Linked DNA regions of Homo sapiens: region 1 is linked to region 2. Evidence: promoter capture Hi-C in human tissues and cell types (Jung and others, 2019). All regions are on one chromosome and are shown on one strand. Each heading gives the region's core, a stretch centred on a gene start or on the middle of the fragment in contact. The rest is flanking DNA. Distances are from core to core; before and after follow the strand shown.

Region 1 (6,459 bases), core at 1,227-3,726, 1.2 Mb after region 2:
TCTCTCTCACTTTCAGATGCAGTCAGAGGAACATTCAGGCCCTTTCTCACCCCTTTTCCCACCATAGGCAGACCCAATATAAGACTTATCAGGCCCCTCCCCTCCTCTTCCTGTCCAGATCTTCTTGCCTTCCCCAACCCAACTACAGTCTCCTACAGCCTGAGTTCTAGGGTCTGGGCAGTGACCCCGCCCCCACCCAGGCTGCTGGCCCTGTGACTTTAACTTTGCAGATGCTACAGTAACAGGTACAGGGCGGGGCCTGGAATTCATGGTCAAATGGCAAGAATCAAGACTTCACCCTGACCCCTCCTCACCTCTGTGCTCCCTCAGGTATTCTGCAGTGGTGAGTCTCTGCATATCCCACCCCCACCTCTGTGGCTGCCACTGCCATGAGCACTAATCTGGGTATTTCTTTTTCTTTTTTTTTCTTTTTTTTTAATTTGAGACAGCGTCTTGCTGTGTCGCCCAGGCAGGGTGGCATGCAATGACACAAACTCAGCTCACTGCAACCTCCGCCTCCCGGGTTCAAGCGATTCTCCTGCCTCAGTCTCCCGAGTAGCTGAGATTACAAGCATGCACCACCACACCTGGCGAATTTTTGTATTTTTAGTAGAGACGAAGTTTCACCATATTGGCTAGGCTGGTCTCGAACTCCTGACCTCAGGTGATCCGCCCACCTTGGCCTCTCAAAGTGCTGGGATTATAGGCGTGCCACATGGCGCCTGGTCTAATCTGGGTATTTCTGTGCTGCCCTTGGCCACAGCTGAAGCCAAACTTGGCCAGGTTCTCCAGCAAGTATAAGTATCAGGAGGGTCAGAAGCAGAAAGAAATCAAAGCTCAGACACTGGGGCTCACTGGAAGAAGTGAACGTCCAGATAACTATTTGGAGGAAGAGTCTGAGCAGGGTTGGAAAGACTTGGAAATCCAGGTATGGGTGTCAGCATGGTCAAAAGTTCAGTGTCTTGGACAGAGGCCATATTATTCCCAGGACAGTATGGGAAAGGACTAGGACTCCCACTTCCTTCGAGGGAGCCCCCTGGCCTGCTCCTTTCCACTGTACAGAAGCCCCAGGGACTGCCTCTGACTGGCTTCAGCCCCGACTTCAGAGATAGCATCACGCTGTTTTTTGTTTTGTTTTGTTTGTTTGTTTGTTTGTTTTGAGATGGAATTTCACTCTTGTCGTCCAGGCTGGAGTGCAATGGCATGATCTTGGCTCATTGCAACCTGTGCCTCCTGGGTTCAAGCTATTTTCCTGCCTCAGCCTCCCAAATCACTGGGATTACAGGTGCCTGCCACCACACGTGACTAGTTTTTGTATTTTTAGTAGATACGGGGTTTCACCTTGTTGGCCAGGCTGGTCTCGAACTCCTGACCTCAGGTGATCTGCCCGCCTTGGCTTTCCAAAGTGCTGGGATTACAGGCATGAGCCACCACACCTGGATGATAGCATGACCCTTGATGTGCCCTCCACCCTGTCTGGCAAGACCATTACAGGCACCAGCTGCCCAAAGTGAGGAGTCTGGGGAACAAGATGAAGTCACAGGTCACTAGGATCTTAAGAGGGATAAGGGCCTGGGAATACAGATCCTTGGGTTCTTGAGGGAATGGGAGTCTAAGCCCTGAGGGTCGTAGGTCCTGGAATGGGAAGTCTGTGTCTCACATGCAGGCCCCAGAAAAGCCCTTTCCCCTGCATGGGCAGCTGGTCCTGTATTTTGGACTGGCTTGACTTTGCCCATGTGGTCAGTGAGGGTTGCCCTTCTCTCCTGGTGCCCATTGGTGCCTCATGCCCTGTAGTATGACATTGTCCTGCTCTATGAAACCTAGGTCAGTGGTGTGGATGTCAGGAGTGTGGATGGGTGGTGGTAGGGATGGATAGGAGTGGCTCTGTGACTGCTGACCCCTAACCCCAGGAACCTGAAGACTGTCAGGCATTAGTCAGTGTCTGTGCCCAATTCCTGCCCAGCAGCACCCACTGTGCCCATCTGCTGCCCTCAGAGCAGCTGTTTCAGGTGGCCCTGCTTCGTGCACACAGCTAGGCAAGACCCTGTGACCCCCAACCCTGTCACTCCCAATACCAGGACCCCATTATGCTGCCCACACATTTGAAACACACCAAACCGTCAGTATGGCATATCATCATGTCGTAAAACAAGCAAAACAGGTACTTAGTTTAACAATAAAGCAGGATTTAAGAAGTTGGTCTTTTTCCATTCATGATGAAATGTTGGGCTCACTAAGTGCACAATAGAAATGAGGCATCCCAGCTGGGCACAGTGGCTCATGCCTGTAATCTCAGCACTTTGGGAGGACAAGGTGGGCGGATCACCTGAGGTCAGAAGTTCCATACCAGCCTGGCCAACATGGTGAAACCCTGTTTCTTTTTTTTTTTTCTCTTTGAGACAGAGTTTCGCTCTTTTTGCCCAGGCTGGAGTGCAATGGCACGATCTTGGCTCACTGCAACCTCCGCATCCTGGGTTCAAGCAATTCTCCTGCCTCAGCCTCCCCAGTAGCTGGGATTACAGGTGCCCGCCACCACGCCCGGCTAATTTTTTGTATTTTTAGTAGAGACGGGGTTTCACCATGTTGGCCAGGATGGTCTCGATCTCCTGACCTCATGATCCGCCTGCCTCGACCTCCCAAAGTGCTGGGATTACAGGCGTGAGCCACCGCGCCCTGCTTTTTTTTTTTTTTTTTTTTTTGAGATAGAGTTTCTCTCTTGTTGCCCAGGCTGGAGTGCAATGGTGGGATCTCAGCTCACCGCAACCTCCGCCTCCCGGGTTCAAGCAGTTCTCCTGCGTTAGCCTCCTGAGTAGCTGGGATTACAGGTACGTGCCACCACACCCAGCTAATTTTGTATTTTTAGTAGAGATGGGGTTTCTCCCTGTTGGTCAGGTTGGTCTCCAACTCTCATCATCAGGTGATCTGCCCGCCTCAGCCTCCCAAAGTGCTGGGATTACAGGTGTGAGCCACAGCGCGTGGCTTTTTTTTTTTTTTTTTTTGAGACTTTGAGACGGAGTCTCACTTTGTCACCAGGCTGGAGTGCAGTGGCACGATCTCGGCTCATTGCAACCTCCACTTCCTGGGTTCAAGCGATTCTCCTGCCTCAGCCTACCAAGTAGGTGGGACTACAGGCGCGTACCACCATGCCCAGCTAATTTTTGTATTTTTAGTAGAGACGGGGTTTCACTATGTTGGCCAGGATGGTCTCGATCTCTTGACATTGTGATTGTCCCGCCTCAGCCTCCCAAAGTGCTGGGATTACAGGCATGAACCACCGCACCCGGCCGAAACCCCATTTCTACTAAAAATACAAAAATTAGCCTGGCGTGGTGGCACACACCTGTACTCCCAGCTACTCGGGAGGCTGAGGTGGGACTGAGCCGAGATCGCGCCACTGCACTCCAGACTGGACGACAGAGCGAGCCTCCATCAAAAAAAAAGAAGAAGAAAAAGGAAAGAAAGAAAGGACGGAGGGAGGGAGGAAGGAAGGAAGGAACGAAGGAAGGAAGGAAGGAAAGAAGGAAGGAAGGAAGGAAGCATGGAGGCATCTCTGGGACCACATGATCATTGCAGCATCACCTCACCTCTTCTCCTCTCCCCATTCACTGCAGGGTTGTGGTTCTATACAGACTTTCTGCTTTGATCCAGGAACATGCTGCTACTCCACGACACAGGCTATGGCAGACCAAGAGGGAGTGTGGAGGACTGAGGGAAGCTTCATCCATCTGCATTCAGTGATGTCCTAGGGGCTGCACCCTACATCTGGCAGAGACATAATTTTTTTTTTTTTTTTTTGAGAGGGAGTCTCGTTCTTGTCACCCAGGCTGGAGTGCAATGGAGCAATCTTAGCTCACTGCAACCTCCGCCTCCCAGGTTCAAGCAGTTCTGCCTCAGCTTCCTGAGTAGCTGGGATTACAGGTGCCCACTGCCACACCCGGCTAATTTTTTTTTTTTTTTTTTTTTGAGACGGAGTCTTACTCTTTTGCCCAGGCCTGAGTGCAGTGGCGCTGTCTCGGCTCACTGCAAGCTCCGCCTCCTGGGTTCACGCCATTCTCCTGCCTCAGCTTCCCGAGTGGCTGGGACTACAGGCGCCCGCCACCATGCCTGGCTAATTTTTTGTATTTTTAGTAGAGACGGGGTTTCACTGTGTTAGCCGGGATGGTCTCGATCTCCTGACCTCGTGATCCGCCCGCCTCGGCTTCCCAAAGTGCTAGGATTACAGGTGTGAGCCACTGCGCCTGGCCTTTTTAAAATTTTTTTATATATTTATTTATTTTTTGAGATGGAGTTTCTCTCTTGTTGCCCAGGCTGGAGTGCAGTGATGTGATCTCTGCTCACTGCAACCTCTGCCTCCCAGGTTCTAGCGATTCTCCTGCCTCAGCCTCCTGAGTAGCTGGGACTACAGGCGCATGCTACCATACCTGGCTAATTTTTTTTTTTTTTTTTTTTTTAGTAGAGGTGGGGTTTCACCATGTTAGCCAGGATGGTCTCAATCTCCTGACCTTGTGATCCGCCCAACTCGGCCTCCCAAAATGCTGGGATTACAGGCTTGAGCCACCGCACCTGGCTACCCGGCTAATTTTTGTATTTTTAGTAGAGTTGGGGTTTCACCATATTGGCCAGGCTGGTCACGAACTCCTGACCTCAGGTGATCTGACCACCTTGGCCTCCCAAAGTGCTGGGATTATAGGTGTGAGCCACTGCGCCTGGCTCAGAGACATAAATTTTATTTTATTTATTTTAATTTTTTTGAGATGGAGTCTCACTCTGTTGCCCAGGCTGGAGTGCAGTGGCGCAATCTTGGCTCACTGCAAGCTCCGCTTCCTGGGTTCATGCCATTCTCCTGCCTCAGCCTCCTGAGTAGTAGCTGGGACTACAGGCGCCCGCCACCATGCTTGGCTAATTTTTTTGTATTTTTAGTAGAGACGGGGTTTGACTGTGTTAGCCAGGATGATCTCCATCTCCTGATCTCATGGTCCGCCCACCTCGGCCTCCAAAAGTGCTGGGATTACAGGCATGAGCCACTGTGCCTGGCCAATTTTATTTTTTTATTTTATTTTATTTTATTATTATTATTATTTTTTGAGATGGAGTCTTGCTCTGTCACCCAGGCTGGAGTGCAGTGGCGCTATCTTGGCTCACTGCAAGCTCCGCCTCCCACGTTCACACCATTCTCCTTCCTCAGCCTCCCAAGTAGCTGGGACTACAGGTGCCTGCCACTGCGCCCAGCTAATTTTTTGTTTTTGTATTTTTAGTAGAGATGGGGTTTCACCGTGTTAGCCAGGATGGTCTCGATCTCCTGACCTCATGATCCACCCGCCTCGGCTTCCCAAAGTGCTGGGATTACAGGCGTGAGCCACCACGCCTGGCCTATTTTATTTTATTTTATTTTATTTTATTTTATTTTATTTTATTTTATTTTTTGAGATGGAGTTTTGCTCTTGTCACCCAGGTTGGAGTACAGTGGCACAATGTTGACTCACTGCAACCTCTGCCTCCCAGGTTCAAGCGATTCTCTTGCCTCAGCCTCCTCAGTAGCTGGGATCACAGGTGCTGGCCACCTTGTCTGGCTAGTTTTGTTTTATTTTATTTTATTTTATTTTTGTGTTTTTAGTAGAGAGAGGGTCTCACCACATTGGCCAGGCTGGTCTTGAACTCCTGACCTCAGGTGATCTGCACGCCTCGGCCTCCCAAAGTCCTGGGATTACAGGCATGAGCCACCTGCACCCGGCCTCTTTGTTTGTTTATTTACTTATTTATTTTGAGACAGAGTTTCGCTCTTGTTGCCCAGGCTGTAGTGCAATGGCACGATCTCGGCTCACTGCAACCTCTGCCTCCTGGGTTCAAGCGATTCTTCTGCTGCAGCCTTTGGAGTAGCCGGGATTATAGGCGCCTGCCACCATGCCCAGCTAATTTTTTTTTGTATTTTTAGTAGAGACGGGATTTCACCATGTTGGCCAGACTGGTGTTGAATTCCTGACCTCAGGTGATCCACCTGCCTCGCCCTCCCAAAGTGCTGAGATTACAGGCGTGAACCACTGCGCCCAGTCTCTGAGACATAAATTATAGCAAGACAGGATTGGTGCAGTGAGGCTGGGAGGCAGGGGATCATAGAGGCCTGGAGTTGCAGCAAGAGGATTAAGACCTACATAGATGGAGAGTGTAGGCAGAGGAGCCCAGGCAGGGGAAACAGCTCATGCAAAAGACAGAAGATAAGAATAGGCAAGTGCCAGATCTCATAGGACCTTTTGGGCCAGGAGAGGGGCTTAACCTTTATCCCAGGGGAAGTGGGGAACCATGGAAGAGATTTAAGCAGGGAAGAGATGTGGGGAGAATTTATTGTTTGGTGGAAGGCCCAGATGCAAGCTCCCGAAATGATTCTGAGTGAGAGATGGCATTCTCTCTACTAGATTGGGGCCACTGGAGATGGAGGAAAAATTGACTCAAAACAGATTAGGG
Region 2 (6,213 bases), core at 1,158-3,657:
GGCTTTATGTAACCCTTAGCTGCCAGTGAGTCTGGGCTGATTCCCCTTTTTCTTTCTCTCCCCACTGACAAGACTATCCATTTGGTGGGGCAAGAGTGGAAAACCCCATCTGGGATGATATATGTGCCCTGAATAATCTCCACACTTCCTCCTAGGTGCCAGTCTGAAATGTCATCTGTCGTATGTTACCAAGCAAACACAGGGTTTGAGATGTGGCAGTTATAAATGATTCACAAGCTTTGTTTCCCTAACGTGGGGCTGGATACAATTTCTTGGCAAGAGCTGGCCACATGGGTGCACTGTTTCAGGGAAAGTTAGGTGCATCACCAGAAATTAAAGTAAAAAGGGACAGAGGTACATCCAAATGCAATGTCTCAGCTTTCTGCCTAGAGGTGGGTGAAGCCTCATTGTGCTTAGACAAATCTTACCCATTTGACCTGGGTCCTGGGTCTTCATTACTCTGATTCAAGTCTCTTTTTTTTTTTTTTTTTTTTTTTGGAGATAGTCTCTCTCTGTCACCCAGGCTGGAGTGCAGTGGCCTGATCTCGGCTCACTGCAATCTCCGCCTTCCGGGTTCAAGCAATTCTCCTGCCTCAGGCTCCTGAGTAACTGGGATTACAGGCACCTGCCACCACACCCAGCTAATTTTTGGTTTTTTGGGGGGTTTTTTTGTTTTTGGGTTTTTTTTTTTTTTTGGGACAGAGCCTCGCTCTGTCGCCTAGGTTAGAGGTTAGAGTGCAGTGGCGCAATCTTGGCTCACTGCAACCTCCGTCTCCTGGGTTCATGCGATTCTCCTGCCTCAGCCTCCCGAGTAGCTGGGACTACAGGCGCGTGCCACCATGCCCGGCTAATTTTTTGTATTTTTAGTAGAGACGGGGTTTCACCATGTTGGCCAAGATGGTCTCGATCTCCTGACCTCAGGTGATGTGCCCGCCTCGGCCTCTAAGTGCTGGGATTACAGGCATGAGCCACCGTGCCCAGCCTCAAGTCTGAAATATATACCATGGGCAGGAGTAGTTGGAGCATGCAACTCTTCCAAACAGATATTAAATGTGGACAAAGATTCAGAGGCTGCCAGGGCCACCAACCATGCCCATGCTCCCACCCCTAAGAACTGCCCAGGCCCACTACTTACAGCCAAAGACATAAGCACCGGGTGCCAGGAGAACAGGCCTGGAATGAGAAGAGGAGGCCTCATGGGGCTGAGGCAAGAAGAAACCAGCCATACCAATCCTTAAGGGTTGAGGAATACCAGCAGCCCATCACCCAAGGAGGTGCTGCCAAACTGTGAGCCCCTTCTTGCTCTGCAACAAGCTGACCCCACACCTATCCTCTCTTCCTGGCCTCTTCCTGGATCAGAGGCCATGCTTTGCCACTCCTCTGGCAGTCCTCCCTCCTTCCCTTACACCTCCTGAGAGGCAGCCAAATGGAGCACCCAGAGAAGGAAAGACAAACCAGGAATTCTGTGTGCCCTGGCCATACCTACCTGCTCCACCTCACTCATCGCTCCAGCACAGAATTCCCTCAACCAGCCAGGCCTGTTCCCGGAAGTCCCACTGCCCTTCCTCCCCAGGAACAGTGGCCCTTCCCTTCCCAGAAGTCAGCTATGAATTCTACTTACTGGAGCCAGGCCTGGCAAGCACAGCCACAAAGATGGTAAAGCCCAGGGCCACAAGGTGGGCGGCAGCGCCAGAAGCAGTACGCAGAGCTCGGTAGATGTGTGACTCGGTCTCCGCAGAAAGGGCCATCGTCAGCCGTGCTAGTGGTTGTAGCCTGAAAGCATAGTAGCGTGGGCCAGGATCTCAGGTGCCCACTGTTCACTCCTCACTGGAGAAAAGGCTGCAAGGCAGGAATGCCACCCTCTTCCAATAAGTTATGGTAGGAAAGAACAGTACCAAGACCAGCACCAGGAATGGTCACAACATGCCAGTCGACGGCCGGCGGCCTGTCAACGTGTACCCATGTCTGAACTGGTACCAATCGCTGGCCCGCCTTCCAGGTAGGAGGCGCAAAGCCATGTAAGACTACAAATCCCAGCGTGTACCACGCCGTCGCCGGCAGTAGAGCCAGCTGGGAGGGCGCGGAGCACTATGGAAATTGTAGTTCCCTGCTGCGGTCCCAGTTACAGCGTGAATCCCTTAGCGCACCGCCTCCCCAAGTGCTGCCAGCATGCTGCCCCTCCACGCTAGGGACTTGCCTGCCTCTGCCGCAGCGCAGATCTGATGCGGTGGTTTCCTCCAAAGAAAGCGGGATACTCCGGGCCCTGCCGCGCGCACCGCCGCTCCGTCACGGAGCCGCTTTACTTCCGGGTGCGACGTCTACCCACCCAGGACTTCCTGGGACGAGCCGTCCCCCGCCCCAGCCACGCCTCTGAGTCGCGCTGCGCAGGCGCCATTGGGCAGAGGGATTGGCAAGCTTGCGTGCCCCAGCGACACAGGCCTCGAGGCTGTCTCTGACAAGTGTTCACAGGAGGTGGGGACGCCTCTGCGCGAGGAACGAGGAGCTACGGGCCTGGGCCCGGTTATTGCCATGGGCAGCGGCTGCCGCATCGAATGCATATTCTTCAGCGAGTTCCACCCCACGCTGGGACCCAAGATCACCTATCAGGTGCCACCCGGGCTCGCGGGACTGGGCGGGAAGAGGGACGTTCTCGAGAGCTCAACTGGCTGCCTGAAGGCAGTAGTTTCCCGTGCTGCACGCAGGCATGCTGCTTCATTCGCAGACAACTGTGAGGCTAGAGGATAGTCAGACCCAGGCCCCCGGCTCCCAATGTGGCAGGGAAGACATACGTCACATTGGCAGTGTTTGTAGGATATCGGGCTGTAGGGATCCGGTTGGGGGGTTCCAGGTCCCACAGAAGGTGAGTTGGGTGACCCATGAGTATCCCTGAACTGAGTGAAGAGTAAATGATGCATAGGAAGTTTAGGTAAGGCAGGAGAAAGTGTTCCAGGTAGAGGGAACAGCATATGCAGAAGCCAGGAAGGAGGTGAGATCATAGCGTATGTTTGGAAACAGAAAGAAGTAATAGGCCTGAGTGGATGGGAGAGAGGGGAACGCTGGAGAAGAGGACTTGGGCTTGGGGGGCATGAGGAGGTCACCATTTGTACTACACCCAGTACAGATGTCCACTGAGGGGCCCATTGCCACTCCCCTCCCCAGGTCCCTGAAGACTTCATCTCCCGAGAGCTGTTTGACACAGTCCAAGTGTACATCATCACCAAGCCAGAGCTGCAGAACAAGCTTATCACTGTGTGAGACCCTAGCTCGGGGTGAGCGGTGGGTGGCAGGGGTTGTCCCAGGAGGAGGAAGGGACAGGCTTGGGGGCCTGACTGTGTTCCAATTATCCAGCACAGCTATGGAAAAGAAGCTGATCGGCTGTCCTGTGTGCATCGAACACAAGAAGTACAGCCGCAATGCTCTCCTCTTCAACCTGGGCTTCGTGTGTGATGCCCAGGCCAAGACCTGCGCCCTCGAGCCCATTGTTAAAAAGCTGGCTGGCTATCTGACCACACTAGAGGTCTGCAATGAGATGGGCTTGGGTTTACCGACAGGCAGAGTTGGGGAAGGTGTTCCCATGTCTCCAAAGTCCCCCAAACCTGGGACCCTGCAAACCAGCTCAGGACTCAGGGCAGCCAACCAGCCAGGGGTCCTGGGATGTGCCCACCATGCTTTCCATGCTCTGTCTAGCTAGAGAGCAGCTTCGTGTCCATGGAGGAGAGCAAGCAGAAGTTGGTGCCCATCATGACCATCTTGCTGGAGGAGCTAAATGCCTCAGGCCGGTGCACTCTGCCCATTGGTATGGCCAGCCTCTGCAAGGACAGCAGAGGGGTAGAGGAGAGATGGGAAAGTGAACCCAGCTAGTCAGGGAGAAGGGCAAGACTCATGAACACATTGGTGGGCAGGAAATAGCCATGGGCTGAGGTGCCCATGTCCAGGGTCCAATGCATGATGGAGCTGGGACTGGGGGTAGGGGGAAAGCAGAGCTCTCCAGCTCTGCCCCTTGGGCAATTCCTTCCCCTTTGTGGGCCTCCGTTTCTCACTCCATAAAAAGAGAAAGATTAGCCCTACCCAGAGGCACCTGCTTGCCCCAAGGGATGCTGGGAGGCCTGGATGGTAATTGAGGACCTCTTGGAAGAAGTGGCACTGAGGATATGGATGGGGCCCCCTGCAGATGAGTCCAACACCATCCACTTGAAGGTGATTGAGCAGCGGCCAGACCCTCCGGTGGCCCAGGAGTATGATGTACCTGTCTTTACCAAAGACAAGGAGGATTTCTTCAACTCACAGTGGGACCTCACTACACAACAAGTATGCCATCCCTCCCTGGGTATCATCACCTGGGGCTGGCCACAGCCCTGGCCTCATCCTGTTTCTTCTGACCTTGTCCCACTCTGCCCAGATCCTGCCCTACATTGATGGGTTCCGCCACATCCAGAAGATTTCAGCAGAGGCAGATGTGGAGCTCAACCTGGTGCGCATTGCTATCCAGAACCTGCTGTGAGTGGGCCTACAGTCATACCTGGGACAAGGTCACCAGCCAGGGAAGACCTCAGGGGCCCTGGGTGTGAGGGTTGGGAAGGCATGGTCCTCAGAAGCTGAGCACAGCTCTCTCTCTCAGGTACTACGGCGTTGTGACACTGGTGTCCATCCTCCAGGTAGGTGAGTTGGGTTTGGTTAAGTGGAGAGTGGATCATGTGGCTGGACCAGACCAGGGCTGTGTCAGCTTCCCAAGCCCCTCACTCAGGCCCCTATGCCTTCTGCTACCCTCTAGTACTCCAATGTATACTGCCCAACGCCCAAGGTCCAGGACCTGGTAGATGACAAGTCCCTGCAAGAGGCATGTCTATCCTACGTGACCAAGCAAGGTAGTGGTGGGTTCTGGGGGAAGCCATCTTGGGGAGGGCAGGGCCACATGATGAGCTGATCCCTGGCACCCACAGGGCACAAGAGGGCCAGTCTCCGGGATGTGTTCCAGCTATACTGCAGCCTGAGCCCTGGCACTACCGTGCGAGACCTCATTGGCCGCCACCCCCAGCAGCTGCAGCATGTTGATGAACGGTCAGAGGAGAATTTGCTGGGGCATTTGGGAGTTACCTGAGGGAAGCTAGACCCTTTATGTCTCTCAGGAGCCCTGGATCATGGGGCACTGCCAATCCAAGCAGGCTTCCTGGAGATGATGGGCTACAGAGACAAAATTGAAGGGAGACTACAGGAAAGGGTTGGCCTGCCTGAAAGAAGGCCTGGCCAGGGCGTCACCCCGTCCTCTGATCCTCACCCTAGGAAGCTGATCCAGTTCGGGCTTATGAAGAACCTCATCAGGCGACTACAGAAGTATCCTGTGCGGGTGACTCGGGAAGAGCAGAGCCACCCTGCCCGGCTTTATACAGGCTGCCACAGCTATGACGAGATCTGCTGCAAGACAGGTGGAGGCAGGCGGGCAGTCAGGGTGGGTTCAGGGCAGGGTGGCCAGGCCAAGGCCACTGACCTCTCCTCCACCACCCCACCCAGGCATGAGCTACCATGAGCTGGATGAGCGGCTTGAAAATGACCCCAACATCATCATCTGCTGGAAGTGAGGCTGGTAGTGACTGGATGGACACATTGCTGTGGGTAGTCCCTCCTACTAGGAGGCTTGTCATACTGTCTAGAGGTTGACTCTTAGTTCTGTAAATAAAGACATCCATTTCAAACAGCCTTTATTGAGTGCTGTTTCTGGGCCAGCCGTGGGAGACCCAGCAGTGAATGAAATAGCCACGAGCCGTGGGCTAGATCGCCATCTGGTGGGCAGGACCGACAATCGACAAATAAAAGTGCCGGTTAATTACAAAAAAAAAAAAAAAAAAAAAAAAAAATCGTCCTGATGCGGTGACTCACCTGTAGCCCCAGCTACTCAGGAGGCTGAAGTGGGGGGATCATTTGAGGCCACGAGTTGGAGGCTACATTTAGCTGTGATCCCATCACTGCACCCCAGCCTGGGTGACAGAGCAAGACCCCATCTCAATAATAATAATAATAATAAATAAACCTAGAAAGAAGCAGATGTAGCCAGGCGCGGTGGCTCATGCCTATAATCCCAGCACTTTGGGAGGCTGAAGCGGGCAGATCACCTGAGGTCAGATGTTCAAAAACAGCCTGGCCAACATAGTGAAACCCCATCTCCACTAAAAAAAAATACAAAAAATTAGCCAGGTGTGGTGGTGCACACCTGTAATC

The links. Contacts are between HindIII fragments. The study calls those that stand out against the background at their distance.
Region 1: a fragment that was not itself captured here is called in contact with the fragment with the promoter of NPRL2 in region 2 in 1 of the 25 tissues and cell types used here (pancreas).

Annotation. Positions count from the first base shown.
Region 1 is chr3:49,145,566-49,152,024 of GRCh38, reverse strand. No RefSeq gene overlaps it. Among named protein-coding and RNA genes, the nearest start is that of LAMB2, 16 kb to the right of the region's middle. The HindIII fragment of the contact is 6,447 bases long and covers 1-5,699 here.
Region 2 is chr3:50,346,969-50,353,181 of GRCh38, reverse strand. It overlaps NPRL2 (NPR2 like, GATOR1 complex subunit), which reads left to right and starts at 2,407. Exons shown (of 11, transcript NM_006545.5): 1 at 2,407-2,607; 2 at 3,160-3,251; 3 at 3,349-3,517; 4 at 3,688-3,796; 5 at 4,172-4,308; 6 at 4,400-4,497; 7 at 4,619-4,655; 8 at 4,772-4,865; 9 at 4,941-5,058; 10 at 5,281-5,423; 11 at 5,509-5,852. The coding sequence starts at 2,530. The coding sequence ends at 5,576. CYB561D2 (cytochrome b561 family member D2) reads right to left here and starts at 2,320. Exons shown (of 4, transcript NM_001291284.2): 1 at 2,198-2,320; 2 at 1,622-1,773; 3 at 1,136-1,173. The coding sequence starts at 1,748. It overlaps LOC127898564 (CYB561D2-LOC101928965), which reads right to left and starts at 2,320. Exons shown (of 5, transcript NR_183066.1): 1 at 2,198-2,320; 2 at 1,622-1,773. RefSeq lists an enhancer at 2,146-2,365. The HindIII fragment of the contact is 1,502 bases long and covers 1,327-2,828 here.